Linked DNA regions of Homo sapiens: region 1 is linked to region 2. Evidence: promoter capture Hi-C in 16 types of primary human blood cells and fetal thymus (Javierre and others, 2016). All regions are on one chromosome and are shown on one strand. Each heading gives the region's core, a stretch centred on a gene start or on the middle of the fragment in contact. The rest is flanking DNA. Distances are from core to core; before and after follow the strand shown. Region 1 overlaps LOC105378797 (a long non-coding RNA gene). Region 2 holds the start of NEGR1 (neuronal growth regulator 1).

Region 1 (3,271 bases), core at 92-2,591, 350 kb before region 2:
ATAGTGGGATAAGCAAATGGACTAAGTGTAGCACATGGTTTTCCGCACAGAATAACACCAAACAAGAATGAACCAGATAAAGATCTTTTGTACAAGCAGTGTTCTAAAGAAAAGCTTTGAGCTCCTAACTCCTCATGTTTATGCAGGAAAATCATGGTATGCTTAAAATTAGATTTTTCTCCACAGGAACTTCTTACTATAATGTAGAACTGAAGCAGTATATAATTTTAACACTTCTATGCCTCCAAATCATCTTAACCAATTCTGAATCAGTGTTAGGATGTTATCGGCCAAAATGAATCCATGGTCTTTGATCTGCACTGTCTACCCTAAAATCAGAGTCAATTCTTTTTTTTTTTCCCCAAAGAATTTGTCCAAGGTTCAGAGATAATATATACTTTCATTTAGCTCTAAATAGGAAATGAGTTCTTAAAAGAAGAAAGTAGGCTTAAAGCAGTGTTGAATTATTCCAAAGAAATGCATTATTTCAGGTTTTTCATAACCTTTTATTCAGCTCAACATTATTGTGCAGTTGAAAATATTTGGCTCACCCCATGGAATTTGGAAAATATGTTGCTTCAAGTCTGTAGTACAATGAAATCAGGATAATTTCAACTCAGTCTGATTATCAAAGGTAAGTACTTTCTTGAAAAACACTGCCAGATACCACAGCTTGCTGAGGGAAAAATGAGAGATGCCAAAATTCATTTCAAAATACCCCATGCATGTGTTTAGAAAAGAGTTTTAGCAACAACAAAGGTGTTCACTATTATAAGATGTTCAGCCGCTTACCTCTAGCTTCAGAGAGTCTATTCCCTGTTCTTGTCACCTAACTCTAATGTTGGGAGGCAGCTGAGTGGCCTCCAGGATAACCATATTGCAGGACAAAAGAAAGGAGATGAGATGGAAGAGTTCCAGCTTCAGCCCTGCGGAGCCTGTGAGCTGGTGCCAAAGATAACAGAGTAGCATCAAAGGCTGTATGGGACAGCTGTACTGGCAGGGAGCTACAAAGGCAAAAGAGAGAGAGAAAGGCAGGAGAGAGAGACAGAGAGAGAGAGAGACAAACAGAGAAAGACAAAGACAGAAACAGAGAGACATTGAGACAGAGACAGAAAGATACAGAGAGGAAGATCTTAAAATATGTATATTTTAGTATTATGAGTTCTAAAGGATGCGGGAGAAATGGGATGAAGAGATGAAAGACAACAGGAAAATAGAGAAGATGGATAGAGGAAGAAAGGAGGGAAAGTAAAGAGAACAAAGGAGGAAGAGAGAGAGAAGTAAAAACAAAGAAGGGAGGGAGGGTGAGAACCCTGTGGCATAGCGACAGAAAGCAAGGCTGCTGGACTAATTTAAAGGTCTAAGAACAACGAAATGATCATTAGGAAGCTGGTCATATATTTAGGTTCCTTCTCAAACAACTGGGAGGACAACAATCAGTTCTTTTGTCAGAATTTCCTTCAGGGTTTTTTTGTTAAATATGTCAACCACCAAAACCACAATTGCAAAAATAAAAGAGAATCCCGTGCTGAAAATAAATCACTTCTAACTTCGTTAGGGAGTTTAACAGTAGGTTAGGGAAATGAGGGAGGTGGTGTGTGTGTGTATGTGTGTGTGTGTGTGTGTGTGTGTGCGCGCGCGCGCGCGCGCGCGTGCGCTGCAAGTTGCTGACAATATATTATGGAAACGATAAATTATGAAAGATTAGGCTAGCTAATGAAAAACTAACAAGTAGAATATTTGATCTACAGCAGAGATTCTCAACCAGGGGCATTTTTTCTCTCTCCAGAGACATTTGGCAATGTCTGGAGACATTTTGATTGTCATGACCGCAGAGTGCAACTGGCAGTTAGTGGACACAGGCCAAGGATATTGCTAAACATCCTACAATGCAGAGGATAGCACAACAAAGAATTACACAGCCCAAAATGTCAATAGGACAGAGGAGGTTGGGAAACCTTGATGTACAGTTAGAGAGACATATGTTTAGATTTGGATTAAACACTTTGCTAGTTGTGTGACCCTGGACAAGTTATTTCAGTTCTTTGTGTCTCAGTTTCTTCATTGATAAAATGGAGATAACATTATTTCTTCAGCGTGGTGTCAACCTTATCCCTGTGTCTGGCACTAGACTGGTATGCCACAGCTATTATTATTTTTTCCTTCTTTCCATAATCTAAGTGTGGGATGAAGTAAAATAAAATAATAGCAATTAATGGATAAAATATGCCCCAACTTCTTTTTTCTAGTATGTATGAGAAGGTTAGAAACAATGCCAGTTTTCATAGTACATAAAGATGTCATAAATTCTTGCCAAAACAAACAAGTAAATAATAGAAAGGAAGCTCTATGAAATTTAAATGGGGGGCCTTTTCTTAACTGAATATGTTAATAAAATATAACATTTTTATGGCTTTAACATTTATACTCTTGTATTCGATGCCTTTTCTCTTCACCTAAACCCTAGGCTGTGTTCTCATCTACAGGCACAGTTTCTCTTTTCCATGATGTATCACACATGTAATTGCCCTGTTTAGGACTGTAATTCCTGCTGTGCTGTAAGCTTGTGGAAATAAACTGAGACTACCCAAAAGAGAATGAGCAAATGCTATTTATTCACTACTTGCTACGGCAAGGAAGTAAGCCAGCATTACTTACATTTGGCACAGACTCAATGCCAGGCAGAGGAGTGGGAAAGCTTTACAGTAGGAAAAAAAAAGGAAGGATTCAGGTATGCTTTGACTGGGGATGTTGGCATAGGGAGGCTGGAAATGGATTAACTAAAAGTAGAGCGTTCTATGTCATTGGTTAAATGAGATCTATTTGGTTTTCTCTGGTTAGTCCTAAGGTGGAAGTAGCAACAAAAATTGAGAAAGCTGTCAGCTATTGATCTGATCAAATACTGACTGTTTGAGGCTGAAGACTACAGAAGAGGTGATTTGGCTTCTTGAGCTGGTTGCTGAAGGTGTGAGTCAGAATTCTAGTTTAATATATGGTCCAGCTGCTGTCCATTTGACTATTTAGCTGTTCAAGTTCCTGGAAAAGGGATATCATGTTTACCTTACTCTATTTCCAAAGCTGAGTTGAGCAAGTTAAAAGTAACAGTGACTAAAAGCATGCAAAGAAATGCCCAGTAGTGAGTAAACGACTTGTATTCTAGATTATGTTCCTTTCTTTTAGTACTCATTTTAGAGATCTCCAGTAGAATAGGTGGTAGTTAAAATAGAAGAATCACATAAAAGCAGGCCTTCTGATTTCCAAATAAATCACA
Region 2 (3,260 bases), core at 749-3,248:
GAGCTCAGTCTGCGGAGGCAGCCGGATGCTGACCCCTGCAGAGAGTCTTGCTTCGGTGCGCTTTGCCAAATGACCCTGCTAGCATTATGGAAAACGAGTTACGGACGTGTGAGGTTTTGCTTCATTTCCTCCAAAAGAAGAACTGGGATCTGGCAAAGAATATCTTCTTCAAACACTGCTAAAGGGGGATGGGGTGGAGGAAGGGAAAAAGTGTGTGAGGGGGAGGGAGCTTATTTTTTAATTACTTATTTTCCATTTTCACTTCCCCGCTCTGCTTCCCAAACTCCTCGCTGAACAAGATTGATTGGTGTAACTGCTAACGACTCAGCCTCGGTTCTCGCATTGATTTGCAAATGGCCCGGAAAAGCTTAAGGATCTTGAATCTGGAAATGAGTTCAAGAAGGAAAGAAGAAAAAAGAGTAGGGGTGGCCCCACGCCTAGTATCTCCTTCTGCCTTGGGCCAGGGCAGGGCTGAAAACAGCCCGGCGAGCTGCGGAGGGGCTGCTGCGTGGGGAAGCGGAGGTTACCGCTCTGCACCGCGGAGGAGCAAGCCTGTTAACGCGGTGTGGAGGCTGTTAAGAAATACAACCCTGCGACTCGTTAAACCCCTTAACTCTGCCCTGCCTTGACTCGGATGCGCCGATTATTCGGCCTGATAGGCTCAAATGGGTTAAACTGCCTCTTACATAACTGGACCGCCTGGGCTCTACACAATTAAAACACTTGATTGCAGTCTTTTCCCGACTCTACATCCCAGCATGACCCGCCCCGTCCCTCCCAGCGCGCCTGCGTGCCGCGCGTGCACAGGCCCCCGCGCGCACGACACGCTCTCTATCACACACACACTCCATGTTGACCATAAACAATCCCCTACTCACACACACAACTTAGTGTCAACACCCACAGATAAAAGAGGGGCGTCCTGCAATCCATACGGGCCGACCGCCACAAACACGCAAGCTGCTCTGCCGCAAGGCCTTGCACCTCCTCGTGTCCCCGCAAAAAAGCAGCGCCCCGCCACCGTCCCTACCTATTCCCGAGAAAACGCAGAGAGAACTAGTTGGCTGCTCGCTAACTGCAGCGTAGCCACCCAGGCAAGATTAGAAGAAAATAAACAAAAAAACAACTCACAGTCGCCGGCGTCATGATGGCGCCGACCACAACTTGGAGGACTTCAAACTTACGGTGCCTCGAGAGGTAAAACGCACCGGTGAGGGAAGGCAAAGCGCCCCTCAGCTCTCTTCACCCCAGCCCTGACACGGAGACTTTTCTAGCAAAGAATCCCTCTAGCGCTTACGACAGTAAGGAGAGCCTTCATTCTAAGGTGCCTCTCTTTCCCCCTTAGTTTGCATAATTGTGATACAGTTCCTCCTATTTTTTTTTTCGTTGTCTTGCTTTTCTTTTTTTTTTCTTGCTATCTTTTTTCTTTCTTTTTTTATTATTTTTTTAATCCCCCTCCCTTCTCCATCCCCAGTCCCCTGGCGGGGTTGCTAAGGAAACGGCCGCTTGGCAACGCGCGCGAGCCCGGGAGCCGGCGGCCGGCGCAGCGCTCCGCGCTGCTTCTGCTGCTGCTGTTGCTGTTGCTGCTGCTGCTGCTGGGATTGCAGCCGCCGCCGCCGCCGCTCGCCCTGCCTCCTCCCCCGCCGCCGCGCCTCCTCCCTCACTCGCCGGCGCGCTCGCCTCCTCGCTAGATGGTGTGCGAGCCGCCCGAGAATTAGACACACTCCGGACGCGGCCAAAAGCAACCGAGAGGAGGTGTAGTGTGGTGCCAGGGGGAGGGAGGGGAGGGAGGGAGGGAAAGCGAAGAGGAGGAGGGGAGGCAAAAACACCGAAAAACAAAAAGAGAGAAACAACACCCAACAACTGGGGTGGGGGGAAGAAAGAAAGAAAAGAAACCCACCCACCCACCAAAAAAAAAAAAAAAAAAAAAAAAAAAAAAAAATCCTGTGGCGCGCCGCCTGGTTCCCGGGAAGACTCGCCAGCACCAGGGGGTGGGGGAGTGCGAGCTGAAAGCTGCTGGAGAGTGAGCAGCCCTAGCAGGGATGGACATGATGCTGTTGGTGCAGGGTGCTTGTTGCTCGAACCAGTGGCTGGCGGCGGTGCTCCTCAGCCTGTGCTGCCTGCTACCCTCCTGCCTCCCGGCTGGACAGAGTGTGGACTTCCCCTGGGCGGCCGTGGACAACATGATGGTCAGAAAAGGGGACACGGCGGTGCTTAGGTAGGAAGAACGGCGTGCTTTTCGTACTTGTTTCGGTCTATCTTTCTGTCTCTCTTTGAACCCTCTTTGCCTTCTTTATAACACAAGCAATAATGCTGGTGGTGCTCATCATGGAAAGACCACATCCCAAGAATTCCAGGTGCAGATTCTTCCCGGAGCCCCGGCCCGTTTATGCTGGGGCAGGTAGCAAGCTGGACTCGTGATGCTAAAGCACTTTGCCGGAACGCCAAGTAGCCTGGGGATGAGTGAACTGTCAGGTTTAGAAGGAGGGGCAGGTGCCACTTTGAAACTCAATGCACAAGGTCTCTGTTTTACTGTCATGGGGTACTCCTGGAGAGTCTGACAAGTTTATCAGGTTTGTTTCTATTTTACTCCAGCATAAGCGACTCTTTCAAACTGCTGTTCTCTGCTCCCATTTATTTTCCCTCTCACTTGGACACTTAGGCTCGATTTCTTGCTCTTTATCTTTCTTTCCTTTTACCGCTTTCTGTTTTCTTTCTTTTCTCCTTCCTCATTCTCTTATACCATTTTCCCCACCTCCTTGTAACTCTTTTTCCCTCCAATATCTCTTTTCATACCTTTTCTATTTTCTGTTTTTTCCCTCCTTTTTAAAATTTCTTCTCATATTTTCTCATTTTTATCTCCACGACTCTAATTTCTGTTCCTCACATTTAATCCCCTTTCCTCCTCTCTTTTACCCTTTTTTCTTTTTGTCTATTTTTTTTATTCCTCCTTAATGTCCCTATCCTGTGCCCTGTCTTCCCTCTTTTGACTCCCATTTCTCATCCCTCTCCCCATACCGTTTCCCACCCCTGTGGCACACACAGGCATGGTCACTGTTCCCCTCCAGTACCATTTACTCACCCTCATAAATCTTATTTCCATAAACATACTAACTCACATACTCTCACATCCTCACATGCACTGGCACTTCCATGCTGTAAGAACCACTTCCACATTCAGATTGTCTCTCACTGTTTTTAAAAGGCATACTCTCCTTCTCTGTTCCACATTGTCACTCACACATGTGTACACACTGCCT

Evidence for each region. The method cuts DNA at HindIII sites, captures the fragments that hold promoters and counts their contacts. A CHiCAGO score of 5 or more calls a contact.
Region 1: a fragment that was not itself captured here is called in contact with the fragment with the promoter of NEGR1 in region 2 in 1 of 17 cell types (monocytes); the score reaches 6.3 in monocytes.

What each region holds. Positions count from the first base shown.
Region 1 is chr1:72,634,497-72,637,767 of GRCh38, reverse strand. The region is part of intron 3 of LOC105378797 (a long non-coding RNA gene); the gene reads right to left. Among named protein-coding and RNA genes, the nearest start is that of LINC02796, 130 kb to the left of the region's middle. The HindIII fragment of the contact is 2,449 bases long and covers 117-2,565 here.
Region 2 is chr1:72,281,277-72,284,536 of GRCh38, reverse strand. NEGR1 (neuronal growth regulator 1) reads left to right here and starts at 1,998. Exons shown (of 7, transcript NM_173808.3): 1 at 1,998-2,218. The coding sequence starts at 2,043. It overlaps LOC105378797 (a long non-coding RNA gene), which reads right to left and starts at 1,603. Exons shown (of 6, transcript XR_947506.3): 1 at 1,132-1,603. RefSeq lists an enhancer at 1-180 and silencers at 1,562-1,651, 1,752-1,811. The HindIII fragment of the contact is 3,164 bases long and covers 370-3,260 here.